4 separate regions of the Homo sapiens genome follow, and all the other regions are linked to region 1. Evidence: promoter capture Hi-C in human tissues and cell types (Jung and others, 2019). All regions are on one chromosome and are shown on one strand. Each heading gives the region's core, a stretch centred on a gene start or on the middle of the fragment in contact. The rest is flanking DNA. Distances are from core to core; before and after follow the strand shown. Region 1 holds the start of RASSF7 (Ras association domain family member 7). Region 2 overlaps CHID1 (chitinase domain containing 1). Region 3 holds the start of NLRP6 (NLR family pyrin domain containing 6). Region 4 holds the start of POLR2L (RNA polymerase II, I and III subunit L).

What was found. Contacts are between HindIII fragments. The study calls those that stand out against the background at their distance.
Region 2: a fragment that was not itself captured here is called in contact with the fragment with the promoter of RASSF7 in region 1 in 1 of the 25 tissues and cell types used here (dorsolateral prefrontal cortex).
Region 3: the fragment with the promoter of NLRP6 here is called in contact with the fragment with the promoter of RASSF7 in region 1 in 1 of the 25 tissues and cell types used here (lymphoblastoid cells).
Region 4: the fragment with the promoter of POLR2L here is called in contact with the fragment with the promoter of RASSF7 in region 1 in 2 of the 25 tissues and cell types used here (psoas muscle and stomach).

Annotation. Positions count from the first base shown.
Region 1 is chr11:559,195-562,219 of GRCh38, reverse strand. It overlaps RASSF7 (Ras association domain family member 7), which reads right to left and starts at 1,250. Exons shown (of 6, transcript NM_003475.4): 1 at 743-1,250; 2 at 328-458; 3 at 1-141. The coding sequence starts at 451. It overlaps LMNTD2 (lamin tail domain containing 2), which reads left to right and starts at 1,482. Exons shown (of 14, transcript NM_173573.3): 1 at 1,482-1,537. The coding sequence starts at 1,504. LMNTD2-AS1 (LMNTD2 antisense RNA 1) reads right to left here and starts at 2,958. Exons shown (of 2, transcript NR_147607.1): 1 at 2,744-2,958; 2 at 2,114-2,441. RefSeq lists an enhancer at 1-447. The HindIII fragment of the contact is 35,948 bases long and covers 1-3,025 here.
Region 2 is chr11:906,906-909,930 of GRCh38, reverse strand. The region is part of intron 1 of CHID1 (chitinase domain containing 1); the gene reads left to right. Among named protein-coding and RNA genes, the nearest start is that of CHID1, 2.4 kb to the left of the region's middle. The HindIII fragment of the contact is 5,018 bases long and covers 1-3,025 here.
Region 3 is chr11:276,775-279,799 of GRCh38, reverse strand. It overlaps NLRP6 (NLR family pyrin domain containing 6), which reads right to left and starts at 1,393. Exons shown (of 8, transcript NM_001276700.2): 1 at 1,202-1,393; 2 at 193-473. The coding sequence starts at 1,230. RefSeq lists an enhancer at 1-93. The HindIII fragment of the contact is 18,362 bases long and covers 1-3,025 here.
Region 4 is chr11:840,766-843,790 of GRCh38, reverse strand. POLR2L (RNA polymerase II, I and III subunit L) reads left to right here and starts at 1,262. Exons shown (of 2, transcript NM_021128.5): 1 at 1,262-1,377. The coding sequence starts at 1,283. It overlaps TSPAN4 (tetraspanin 4), which reads right to left and starts at 939. Exons shown (of 9, transcript NM_003271.5): 1 at 876-939. RefSeq lists silencers at 267-435, 421-650, 671-760, 871-1,500 and enhancers at 769-1,512, 1,513-2,258, 2,259-3,003. The HindIII fragment of the contact is 28,886 bases long and covers 1-3,025 here.

The sequences.
Region 1 (3,025 bases), core at 1-2,500:
GCCCTGTGCGCCTCAGGACAAACTGGACATCGCTGGCAAACTGTCCGCAGGTGGCCTGGGCGCCCACTGGACACTCTTGTGGCAGCAACTGCCGCTCCTTCTCCCGAAGCCGCTGCACAAGCACAAAGCGGCCAGTCTGGCCTGGGAAGAAGAGGAGAAGGTCAGCCTATGTCCCCCCGACTCTCTGTCCACCTGGCTTGAAGAGTTGGGAAGAACAAAAAGGATCAGCAACCAGCCCCACTCTCCTTGGGGGAGACCATGGAGCTGGACCACCAGGTCCCACTTCAGCTCTACCTGCCCGGCCTGCCTGACCCCGAGAGGACTCACCTATTGCTTGGGCTAGTGCGATGACCACTTCCTGGCAGGTGGTCTGCTCTGAGACCCCACAGACCACACGCTGGATGCCATCCACCCACACCTTCAGCTCCATGGCCGCCAGTCCCAACAACATGCCTGTCCTGTGGGGAGGGCGCAGGCACCGGGTCAGGACCTGCCTACTCCTATCGCAGGCTGGTCCTCCTCTCCTCATCCTCTTGGCCTGCCCTAGAAACGGCTGGGCTGCCGCCCCTCCGCACGGGCCCCACCCTCCTGTGCCAGCCCCACCCGCCAGCCACACATTCCTGGGGTGGCGGCCCTCCGGAGCACGCATCCTCCCCCACTTCACCAGCTTCCTCTTGCCACGCTCGCACTCCCGGAACAAGGCGAATCATTAACCAGATCCAGCATTTCCTACTCGCCTCACCTGGCTCGGAGGACACTGCCCCCTCCCCGGGCGGCGCGGAGGCGCCCGCACGCCAGGCCCCGCGGCCGCCGGCATGGGAACGCCCCACCCCGACCTGCTCAGGCCGCAGAGGCGCTCGGGGTCGCAACCCAGACCTCGACCCTGCAGATGGAGCAGACTCCGGGTCTGAGCAGCCCCCGCCAGCCCGGGGAGCCCCGCCGCTGCCGCCTAATCGCTGCGCTCGCCCCGAAAGTCCCGGTCCCCGCCGCGGGCACCGAAGCCCGCGCCGCGACCCCAGCCTGGCGGGAGCCAGGGCGTCCCCGTTCCGCAGGGCGGGCGCAGGTGCGGCGCCGCCCCCGCTCTCCGTCCGGGCATCGCGGAAAACTCTCCCCAGTTGGAGTCGGCGTCCGGCCGGCTCGAGGCGCGCCCCGCGCTCCCAAGTACCGGGGACCCGGCGCGGCTCACCTGGGCGCTCGCCAGCCTGGAGACCCGCTCCGGCGCCGCCGCAACCTGCCGCCCCCAGCGCCGCGGCGCACCCGGGCCCCGCGCCCCCATTGGCCCGCGGTCCGCACGCCCCGCCCCTAGCACCCCTATTGGCTGCTCAGCGCGGGCGTTCCGCCCCCTCCCCGCGCCCATTGGCTGCCTCTGTCACGCCCCTCCCCGACCCATTGGCTCGTCGCCGCGCCCCGCCCCCCCCGAGACTACAGGTGTGGGCGGGTCGGAGGGGGGCGCCGAGCCGCAGTCCCCGCCCCCACCTCCCGCCTACCGCGAAAAACGCGGAAATGCGGTGGCTGCGGCCCGCGGGCAGGCGTCGGGGTAGGTGTCTGGCCCCGCTCCTGGGCCGACTTCCTCAGCAGCCTTCTAGTGTGGCGGGTTCCCGCCCAGGAAGGGTCTCTGGCTTGAGATCCCGCAACCCCCGCCTGCGTCCAGGGGCAGCGGGGCCAGCCCCTCCCCTCGCTTCCCGGGCCAGCCTTTGGGGCCTACCGCAGCTGCAGTAGTCTGGACGCGCAGGGGTCGCGGGGTCGCAGGGTCACCAGTCCCGGCGAGGGAGGTGGAGCCCTGCGGAGCTGGCGGGCGCAGAGTCCTGGTGCGGGAGGTGCCCGCTCAGAAGGCCCGGACTCTAGCTGAGGCTCTTCTCCGACACCTTCCTGCCCCTTTTGGACCCAGTGCCAGGCCATGCACACAGTGAAGCTGGCTGGAAGCCGCTCCTTCACCCCCTACCCTACTGTCCCGCCCAGGGCCCCGCAGCCTCGCGGTCAGCTGTGTGGGCCATTGATTGTTCTGCCCAGCTCAGAAAGAGTTGTGGGCGTGGGCCTCCTGCCCGCCTGTCTCCTGTGCTCCCCCAGGGAGCCCTTACATAGCCGAAAGTTGCAGAGATGAAGGGTGAAAGCTGGAATGATTGGGTTTTAATGGGTCAGGTCTGGGACCTGGCTTTTCTCCTGGAGCAGAGGGAATACTTGTCATGGTAATGGGGTAGCCCAGAGGGTGTGGACACGGCTGGGAAAAGTGAGGCTTCAGTTTGGGGGTCAGGTAGGTGAGTGCCTGTCACTGAGGTCAAAGGAGCTGTGGGCTGGGCCTGGCGGTGGAGGCGGGTGCCTGTAGTTTCAGCAAGTCAGGAGGCGGAAGTGGGAGGATCACCTGAGCCCAGGAATTCGAGGTTAACGTGCGCTGTCATCACACCGAAGCATTCCAGCCTGGACAGCGGAGCAAGACCCTGTCTCTAAAGAATTAATTATTAATTTAAAAACAGGCTGTGGGCAGGAGTGTACTATTGCCAGTTAGCGTTCAGCACAGTCCCCAGCTTGTCACTGTTACCTGTCTGCTTCCCCCACACACCCATGGCTATGCTGGGCTGGCTCACAGGCAGCAGTGCCCCCCTATTTATCCCGCTGCTGCTGCCAGGCTAGGTAGGGGATGCTGGGGCCTCCCTCAGGGTGTTGGTCACTAAGTGGTCCCCCCGCTAAGCTGAGCAGTGGCTCAGCCTCTCACACCTCCTCCAGGCTGGGCTGGCCCAGAACTCACCTAGGGGCCTGGTCTGGGGTCTCCCTGGAGGCTCCTGGTAACAAACAGCCCCACCCCTTCTGGGTGCTGGTATCCATGGCAACGGTATACAGCCCTTCCCTCCCAGGCCTGCTTGGAGGTCGGGCCTCAGGTGAGTGCTGGGGGTAGGGCCCTGAGCTGGGGGGACAAGAGAGAGAAAGAGGGACACCACATCACAGGCAAAGGGCCAGCACCTGGGTGGCAGGGGTACACGCCAGGGACATGTCGGGTGGTGACCTGCTGCGCCAGCCTGGTCAGAAACAC
Region 2 (3,025 bases), core at 262-2,761, 350 kb before region 1:
ACACCACTGCACCCAGCTAATTTTTGTATCTTTTTTAGAGACTGGGTTTCATCACGTTGGCCAGGCTGGTCTTGAACTCCTGATGGGGTGATCTGCCCGGCAGAAAAATATTTTTTGTAGAGACCAGGTCTGGCTGTGTTGCCAAAACCAGTCAAAAACTCCTGGCCTCCCAAAGTGCTAGGATCACAGGCCAGAGCCGCCATGCACCAGTTAGTTCTTCAAAACACAACAGAACAGGAGTTGTCAGTGCGTCCATCGCAGAATAGAGTTAGCTCTGATTGGCTGCTGTCGCTCTACACATGTACACACATGCACAACACATGTGCACACATGACATACACGTGTGCTGGGCTGTGACGTAAAGTGCATTTCTTACTGCTGGTCTCCATGAAAAGCATTGGAAAGCCCCTGCTGTGACTCCCATCATTTCCATCAACACCACCGAGGAGGTCCTGGACCTACGGACTGGGAGCGCAGGAAAGTGGGAGCAGTAGCGCTCCACCTTATCTTGTTACAGAGCGGTTTCTGGGACCCCTTTGGGTGACCAGGGTCGGGGCCTGTGCCTCTTCATAACACAACACATTCCCTTTGTGTGCGGGGCCGTTCTGCCCAAGGGAAGGTCATTGGCATTTGGGGAAGAAACGGTTTGATGCAGGAACACAGTGTGTGTGAACCTGGGAGTCTGTGTTATGTGAAGAGCATGATGGAGAGTGTCCTCACGGGCCTCAGAGCCGAGCGGCCGGTGAGCAGTGGGGAGCGGGAGAGGTACCAAAGCCCAGACAAGGGCCTGGTTGCAGTGTGAGCACCCCTCACACATCACACACACCATCTCCCTGGGGCAGTTGTCTGGAAAGTTCCATGGCAAGTCAAAGAAGCAGCCCAGCATTTGTGAGCAGCCTGTATCCAAGCACTCCATCACAGAGCGGGCAAGTTAAGCGCGAGTGGACAGAGGCAGTACCCTGGCCTTGTGTTCAGTTAGGTTCTCCTAGTGTCCCCTCTGCTGGACACATGCTGGCAGGACTGTCTTCCTCTTCCACCCTTTCCTCTTCCTTCCCTGAAGTGTGAAATCACAGGTTGGGGGGCAGGGAGGTCATAGGCAGAGGGGCCACTAGGTGGGTGGACAGTGGCCCTGTTTCAAATCTGCAGGACGGCAGGTAGGGGCAGAGACCCAGCCCTATAGTGGTTGGTCACTGGGTACCTGAGTGTGCCCTCCAGTTACTCCTGGGCCAGTCCCCTGGAGAACCACCGTTTGGTTTTTCATTCCTTTCCTTCCTCCCTGACCCAGATTTCCACCCAGAAGACAGAGAAGGAGCCAGTGGTCATGGAATGGGCTGGGGTCAAAGACTGGGTGCCTGGGAGCTGAGGCAGCCACCGTTTCAGCCTGGCCAGGCAAGTGATTCTGGGCCGTCTTCCCTGTGCCATGGCCAGAACCCTCCCCACCTTCCCTGGGGCTGTTGCTGACTCAGACCAAGCCTCAGCTGCAGCAGAAAGATAGTGGGGCTAAGGGGAGGTGGCAGCAGGCTGCTGCCCTTGGTTCTGATTCTGGGATGTATCACTGAGGAGAGGGGCTGGAGAGGTTGATCGGGGCAGAGGGTGGTGATCTGTGCCTGGGCCTTCTTATTCCCCCTGCACAGCCTCTCGGAACTGCCGTGGCTGTTCAAGCACTCACTGCCTTTGCCTGTGGCTCCATGTACTGGGTGCTGCTGTGCTTGCCCTGTGAGTTCCCTTCCTAACTCCCCATAAGCCTGCAGGTCAGGCTGTCTTGTGGCTCCCTGCCTCCTAGGTGGGGGAGCTTCACTGGTTGATCTTGCTCCAGGAGCGTGTTCTTTCTATGCAGGTGTGTTGTGGGTGTATTGGGTACCAAAGCATGCAAACTCCCTGCCTGGGGGTAGCCACAGTCTCCTCAGTCTGCACCAGGAGCACCAGTCTCACCCAGGGAAGAGACAGGGCAAAGTGGGGCAGCGTGTGCCTCTGCAGAAGAAAGCAGGTCAAGGGGACGGTTTCAGAGGAAGTGAAAACAGGTTCCTGGCCAGGGAGTCTTTTGGGTAGGAGGGTAGGCACTGTGGTAGGCCTGGCTCTGGCAGCATCTTCTGACAGGTGCACCTGCCTGGCTGGGGTTCCTGGAGCCTCTTGGGCCTGAGCTCCCATATACTCAGGAGCCTGTGACCCAAGGGGAAGGCCATGTGCCCAGCTGCTGGGTAGTGAGTTGGGCTGAGCTCCCCACCTGTCAGGTATCTGCCTCTGCCCAGGCTGTGTGGGCCTCTCAGCTGGTCTAGAGGGGTCTGTGCTGCCAGAGCTGTGAAACTAGCCAAGAGCTTCTTCCCAGCAGTGTCCCAAAGCTTCATGAAGGACTAACAGTCTGGCTGGGCTATGGTGGTGGTTCAGCTCCCACCGCCGCTGCCCCCAACCCCAGTGAAAGATAGAAAGTAGAATCACTTTTTTTTTTTTTTTAAAGACAGTCTCGCACCGTCGCCCAGGCTGGAGTGCACTGGCACTATCTCGGCTCACTGCGAACTCCACCTCCTGGATTCACACCATTCTCCTGCTTCAGCCTCTCGAATAGCTGGGACTACAGGCGCCTGCCACCATGCCTGGCTAATTTTTTGTATTTTTAGCAGAGATGGGGTTTCACCGTGTTAGCCAGGATGGTCTCGATCTCCTGACCTCGTGATCTGCCCGCTTCGGCCTCCCAAAGTGCTGGGATTACAGGCGTGAGCCACCGCGCCCGGCCGGAAAGTAGAATCACTTTTGTTGGTGGCCCCTAGAACCTGAAAGTGAACAGTGTAATAAAAGTTTAGTGCAGGAAGACCAGAAGATACAGATAAAGTAAAAGAGAAGAAACAATGACCAGTAATTCCAGATAGCCTGCTCATTTATTTTTTGTTTTGTTTCTTTGTTTTTGAGAGGGAGTTTTTGCTCCTGTTGCCTAGGCTGGAGTGCAATTGCGCGATCTCGGCTTACCGCAACCTCTGCTTCCCAGGTTCAAGTGATTCTCCTGTCTCAGCGTCCCGAGAAGCTGGGATTA
Region 3 (3,025 bases), core at 144-2,643, 280 kb after region 1:
GCGGGAACAGGGGAAGGCGCCACGGGGGTCCGAGTCACCCTGAGGAGCACGCAGGGTCCTACCCCTGGGGCCCGCGAATTTGTGGATAAAACGCGCGGGGGCCGGGGACCGCGCCGGGGCTTCTCCGGGAAGCGGGAAGGAGGGCAGCCCAGCCTCTGCCCAGACAGGAGGGACCTCCCGCGCAGAACTCACGCTGCAGCCGCCGCTCCTGGAGCTGCGCCGCCACGTCGCGCGCGTCCGCCCTCTTGAGGGTCTTGCGGGCCACCTCCAGGGCAGGCTCCGGGCCGTAGAACTGGGCCAGCTGCTCCGCGAGGTCCACGGCGTCCGCGCGCTCCAGCCGCCCCCACGGGATGCTGCGTCCGTCCGGGCCCACGTCGCGCAGCTTGTGGCGGAAGCGCTTCAGCTGCTCTTGGCTCAGTTCCTCCAGCGCAGCCAGGAGCAGCTCGCGGGCCACCGCGAGGCGCGGCCCCGTGCTGGAGGCGGGCGGGCGCGGGTCATCGGGGAGCGGCCCTCGGGTGACCCCCGCCCGCCCCCGACTCTGGCGCCGGAGAACCCACCGCGGGCAGGGCCTCAGGGAGTCCCGGGCCAAGCATCGTCTGGATCCATGGGGTGGCGGGAGGGGGCAACGGGGAGTGACCCCAGACTTTTCCCTCCCCCGTCCCCGGACCCGGGTCGGGGCGTCTTGGTGTTCTTCGCCCTCTGAGGGTGAAGTGGGCACTGGCCGCCGCTGATCTGAGCTCTGGGGGGCACCTTCCTCCCCTGCACCTCCCTTTCTGCTTCTGTCCTTCCACACCCCAGGACAGGTCACATGCCCCGAGGGAGGTATTTCCAAGGAACCCTGAGCTCTCTTTCCTCGCTTTCCTTCTTTTCCCTCTCTTCCCGATCCCGGAGCAGAACTGGCCTCTTTGGCAGCAGACACTGCCAGGCCCAGGCTGTATTCCTGGGCCCCCACCCCTGCCACACTTTGGTGGGGCCCAGCTTGGGGCCTTGCACCAGGGCCTGAATCTGAGCCCCTGGTGGGGAACAGACTCCACAAATGCCCTCTGTGGGGAGGCAGTGCTTGGCTCCTGAGCCTGGGAGTGAGGGTGGGGGAAGGATGTGGACAAGGGTGGAGAGCCTGAGGAAGTCAGCGGGTGAGGTGGAGGCCCCAGAGGGCTGAGACCAGCCGGTTCCCAGTGACCACCCTGGGGCCAGCACTCACCTGGAGCAGGGGGCCTCTGGCTGGTCCATGGGGTCTCTTCCTCCCTGGGTCTAGCACTCCGGGGCAGAGGTGGGGATCAGAGAGGTGATTCCTTCACAGGCTGAGCTGGAGCCAAGTCTTAGAGGTTGTCCAGCCCGGTCCATTCCCCGGGTCCACACACCGCAGCTCAGCTGGCACGAGATGCTGTTGGGCACCGTGGCACACGCAGAGCATTGCCCTTTAAGGGCTCCGTTTGGTGACCTTTGATTTTCTTACTCCTTTATCCCATTAATGTTCCCCAAGAACCCCTGGGTGTGGCATCGGGGCATGGCTGTGAGCAGGCAGCTTCAGAGCAAGGTGGGTTGTGTGAAGGAGGTGGCTGGCTCAGAGCCAGGCCTTCAGCTGAGGCCTGGGGAGAGGTTAGACTCTGAAGGCAGGGGTGAGGAAAGACTTCCAGGTAGAGGGAACAGGGGGGACAGCCAGCAGCACGCACCATATATGGGAGGGAAGGCAGTCTCCAGGGAGACGCCGGGCAGGGGTCTGCACTGCAGCCTCCCCACCCGACCTGAACAGCTGGCGGGCAGAGGCTGGACGTCAGGGGTGTTCGAGACCCCTGGGACCAAATGTGAGAGTGTGTGGAACGGGGGGGTTAATATGTGGAAATGAGAGGTGCTGGGTAAAATAAGGCTGAGACCTACTGGGCTGCATTCCCAGGAGGGTAGACATTCTAAGTCACAGGATGAGACAGGAGGTTGACACAAGATACAGGTCATAAAGGCCTTGCTGATAATGGTGTAAAGAAGCTGGCCCAAAACCACCAGAACCAAGATGGCAATGAGAGTGACCTCTGGTCATCCTCACAGCTCATTACTCTAGTTACAGTACATTAGCACACTAAAAGACACTCCCACCAACACGATGACAGTTTATAAATGCCATGGCAAAGTCAGGAAGTTACCCTATATGGTCTAAAAGGGGAGGAACCCTCAGTTCTGAGAATTGCCCACCACTTTCCTGGAAAACTCATGAATAATCCACTCCTCGTTTAGCATATAATCAAGAAATAACCATAAAAATGGGCAACCAGCAGCCTTTGGGGCTGCTCTGCCTATAGAATAGCCATTCTTTTATTCCTTTACTTTCTCAATAAACTTGCTCTCACTTTACTCTTTTTTTTTTTTTTTTTTTTTTCATGGAGTCTCGTTCTGTCGCCAGGCGGAGTGCAGTGGCACGATCTCGGCTCACTTCAAACTCCGCCTCCTGGGTTCAAGCAATTCTCCTGCCTCAGCCTCCTGAGTAGCTGGAATTACAGGCATGCACCACCATGCCTGGCTAATTTTTGTATTTTTAGTAGAGACGGGGTTTCACCATGTTGGTCAGGCTGGCCTTGAACTCTTGACCTTGTGATCTGCCTGCCTTGGACCTCCCAAAGTGCTGGGATTACTGGTGTGAGCGACCATGCCTGGCACTTTACTCTTTATGGATTTGACTCAAATTCTTTCTTGCATGAGATCCAAGAACCATGATGTCTGGATCAAGACCTCTTTCTGATAACAGTTTGGCTGTGTGTCCCCACCCAAATCTCATGTTGAATTGTAATTCCCAATGTTGGGGGAGAGACCTGGTGGCAGGTGATTGGATCATGAAGGTGGATTTCGTCCTTGCTGTTCTTGTAATAGTGAGTAAGTTCTCATGAGATCTGGTTGTTTGAAAGTGTGTAGCATGTCCCACTTTGCTCTCTCTGTCCTTTTGGCCACATGAATATTTGCCTGCTTCCCCTTTGCTTTCTGCCATGATTGTAAGTTTCCTGAGGCCTCCCCAGAAGCAAAAGTCTGTACAGCCCAC
Region 4 (3,025 bases), core at 13-2,512, 280 kb before region 1:
CAAACCAGCCCAGAGCCCCCCATGGGTGCCGCTTTGCGGCCCACCCACCCCCACAGCCCACCTCGCACCTCCAAGGAGCCTTCTTTGCCTCTCACTGCACACCGACCCCCCATTTCCTCACCCCCACCCCAGGGGCACAGCAAGAAGGGTGCTGGTGCCAGCCCCCCCGCACTCCATCCGAGAGACACGGGCTCCTCGTCCCTCGTCGTCCGTAGGCCCTGAGCTCCAGGGCAAGCCAGAGCTGAGGCCTTCAGGGGGTCCTGCCAGTGCAGCCTCCGGGAGTCTGCCCAGGGATCCCCTGTGCCGGGGTCTTCCAGGTTCAGCTCAAAAAGCACCTCTTCCACGACTCCCTCCCCGACCTCCCTCCCGGGTCCCCTCTCCCCGTGCTCAGAGGCGCGTCTGAGCGTCGGGAGCTCGGGACGGCGAGCAGCCAGCAGAGCCGGGACCCGGGAGGGCGCACCCCGACCCCATTCCCGGGAAAGAGCGGAAAGAACGCGGACAGGAGCCCGGGGCGGGGAGCTGCCGGCGGGGGCTGTAATTGCGCAGCTGAGGCCAGGGCGGCGCCCCTAGGGGCTGGGCCGCGTCCAGAATGGGACCCCCGAACTCAGCGCCGAGAGCCCCGGACACCCCGCGGGCAGAGGCCGAGGCGGAGGAACCCACTACTCGGCGCGGCCAGGAGGGGCGGCAGGAAGACCCGCCCCGGCCCCCGCCCGCCCTCTCCCCGAGCCCCCGCGCCGGACCCCACTTGTTGCTGCGTGTCGGCTCTGGGCTCGAACTCGCGCGCCCCGCTCGCGTCCGGCTCCAGCCGCTCCCGGTCGGACACCTCCGGCCACGGGACCCTGGCCGCACGCCCCCACAACCCCCAGGCGCAGTACCTGCGCCGCCGCCTCCCGCTCGCGCCGCCCGCTCCCGCCGCGCAGCTGTCAGTCAAGCGGACACGAGAAACGCGAACCGCCGCCGCAGCTTTACGGCCCTGCTCAGACGCCGTAGCGCCGGGATGCACCAAGACGGTGGGCGGGGGTGTGCGGTCTGCTGCTGCCGCGGCCGCGCGGGCCCGGGAGCCCCGGGACGCACAGGCCCAGGAGCCCCGGGACGCACGGGAAGCCCCTATCGCGGCGGAAACTGCGGCCAGCGGTGGCGGGGCCGGTGGAGGGACGGCCGGAACAGCGGAGAACGAGCGGAGCCGATTCTCCCGCAACAGTGGACGCGCCCGGGGCGGGGCCTGGGGGGGTTCTTCGCGTGCGGCCGGGCCGGGCCGGGCAGTCTGGGACGCGCCGCCGCCATGATCATCCCTGTACGCTGCTTCACTTGTGGCAAGATCGTCGGCAACAAGTGGGAGGCTTACCTGGGGCTGCTGCAGGCCGAGTACACCGAGGGGTGAGGCGCGGGCCGGGGCTAGGGGCTGAGTCCGCCGTGGGGCGCGGGCCGGGGCTGGGGGCTGAGTCCGCCCTGGGGTGCGCGCCGGGGCGGGAGGCGCAGCGCTGCCTGAGGCCAGCGCCCCATGAGCAGCTTCAGGCCCGGCTTCTCCAGCCCCGCTCTGTGATCTGCTTTCGGGAGAACCTTATCCCCTGAAGTCTGGGGAAGAGAACGGAGTTGGGCTTCAAACCAGTGGTGTCCTGGGGATTCTAGGTGGCCTGGCGGGTCGCAGGCGTCTTGTCACCCGCAGTAAAGCCCTTGGCCTCCGCCCTATTCCCATCTCTGCCCCCAGGCCCACCCCATGTCCTGCAAACCTCGCTGCAGGACGGGCGGGCGCGGCGGCTGACATCTGTAATCCCAGCAGTTTGGGAGGCCGAGGCGAGAGGCTTGCTTGAGCCCAGGAGGTCGAGACCAGCCTGGACAACCTGGGGAGACCCTGATCTCCAGAAATTTATTTTATTTTATTTTTCTTTTTTGAGACGGAGTCTCGCTCCGTCGCCCAGGTTGGAGTGCAGTGGCGCGATCTCGGCTCACTGCAACCCCCGCCTCCTGGGCTCCAGCAATTCTCCTGTCTCAGCCTCCCGAGTAGCTGGGACTACAGGCGTGTGCCACCACGCCCGGCTAATTTTTGTATTTTCAGTAGAGATGGGATTTCGCCATGTTGGCCAGGCTGGTCTGGAACTCCTGACCTCAGGTGATCCACCCGCCTCGACCTCCCAAAGTGCTGAGGTTACAGGCGTGAGCCACCGCGCCTGGCTCTATCTTTTTAATTCGCCGGACATGGCGGTGCACACCTGTGGTCCCAGCTACTTGGGAGGCTGAGACGAGAAAATCGCTTGAGTCTGGGAGGCAGGTGGAGGTTGCAGTGAGCCAAGATCACGCCACTGCACTCCAGCCTGGAAGAGAGAGTGAAACTCCGTCTCACGCACACACACACACAGAAAAAGAAATGCAGGGTAGACTTGCTGACCACCCTCATCAGGCTTTGTAGGGGAGGCGTCTTTCTCCTGTGCTTGTCCCTTGGTGCTGCTGTCACCACGGTGCCTGAGTCTTGGTGCCCCCGCTGGAGTCTGACCCTCGCCCACTGAGTCTTCGTCACATGTGAAGCCCTGGGCTTGTGTGCGCCAGCCTGCCATCGGCACTTGGTGCAGCTTGCTGGACAAACGAGGAAAGCGAGTGGGCTGCTAGACTGAGTGGCTGGCGGCCTGTCCAGACCCTTTCCCCGGATAGGAACGGCAGGGGCCTCCCATGTGGCCTCCCCTTTCCCAAGCTTCTGTGTCTCTGCACATTGGAGCCATCGGTGTGGGAGTTTTCTGGAGGTCTTGAGGGTGACTGGAGCTAGGTCCCAGGGAAATGAAAGCTTCTAATTGGCTTGGGAAGTGGGAGAGGTGGCTCCGTGGAGAAGCAGTCTCTCTCTGATGGAAGGAAGCAGAGGTGAGGAAAGACCCCACAGCGGCAGAGCAGGGCTTGCTCTGGCTGGGGTGGGGGTGAACCAGCTAAGGGCAGGCCCCTGGAGAGCTACCCTGCCGTGGCCAGTGCTGGATGAGGTGGCTGCACATCAGCACCTTGGTGGTCTTGGTTTTCTAAGCTCCCCGCAATTACTTCGTTT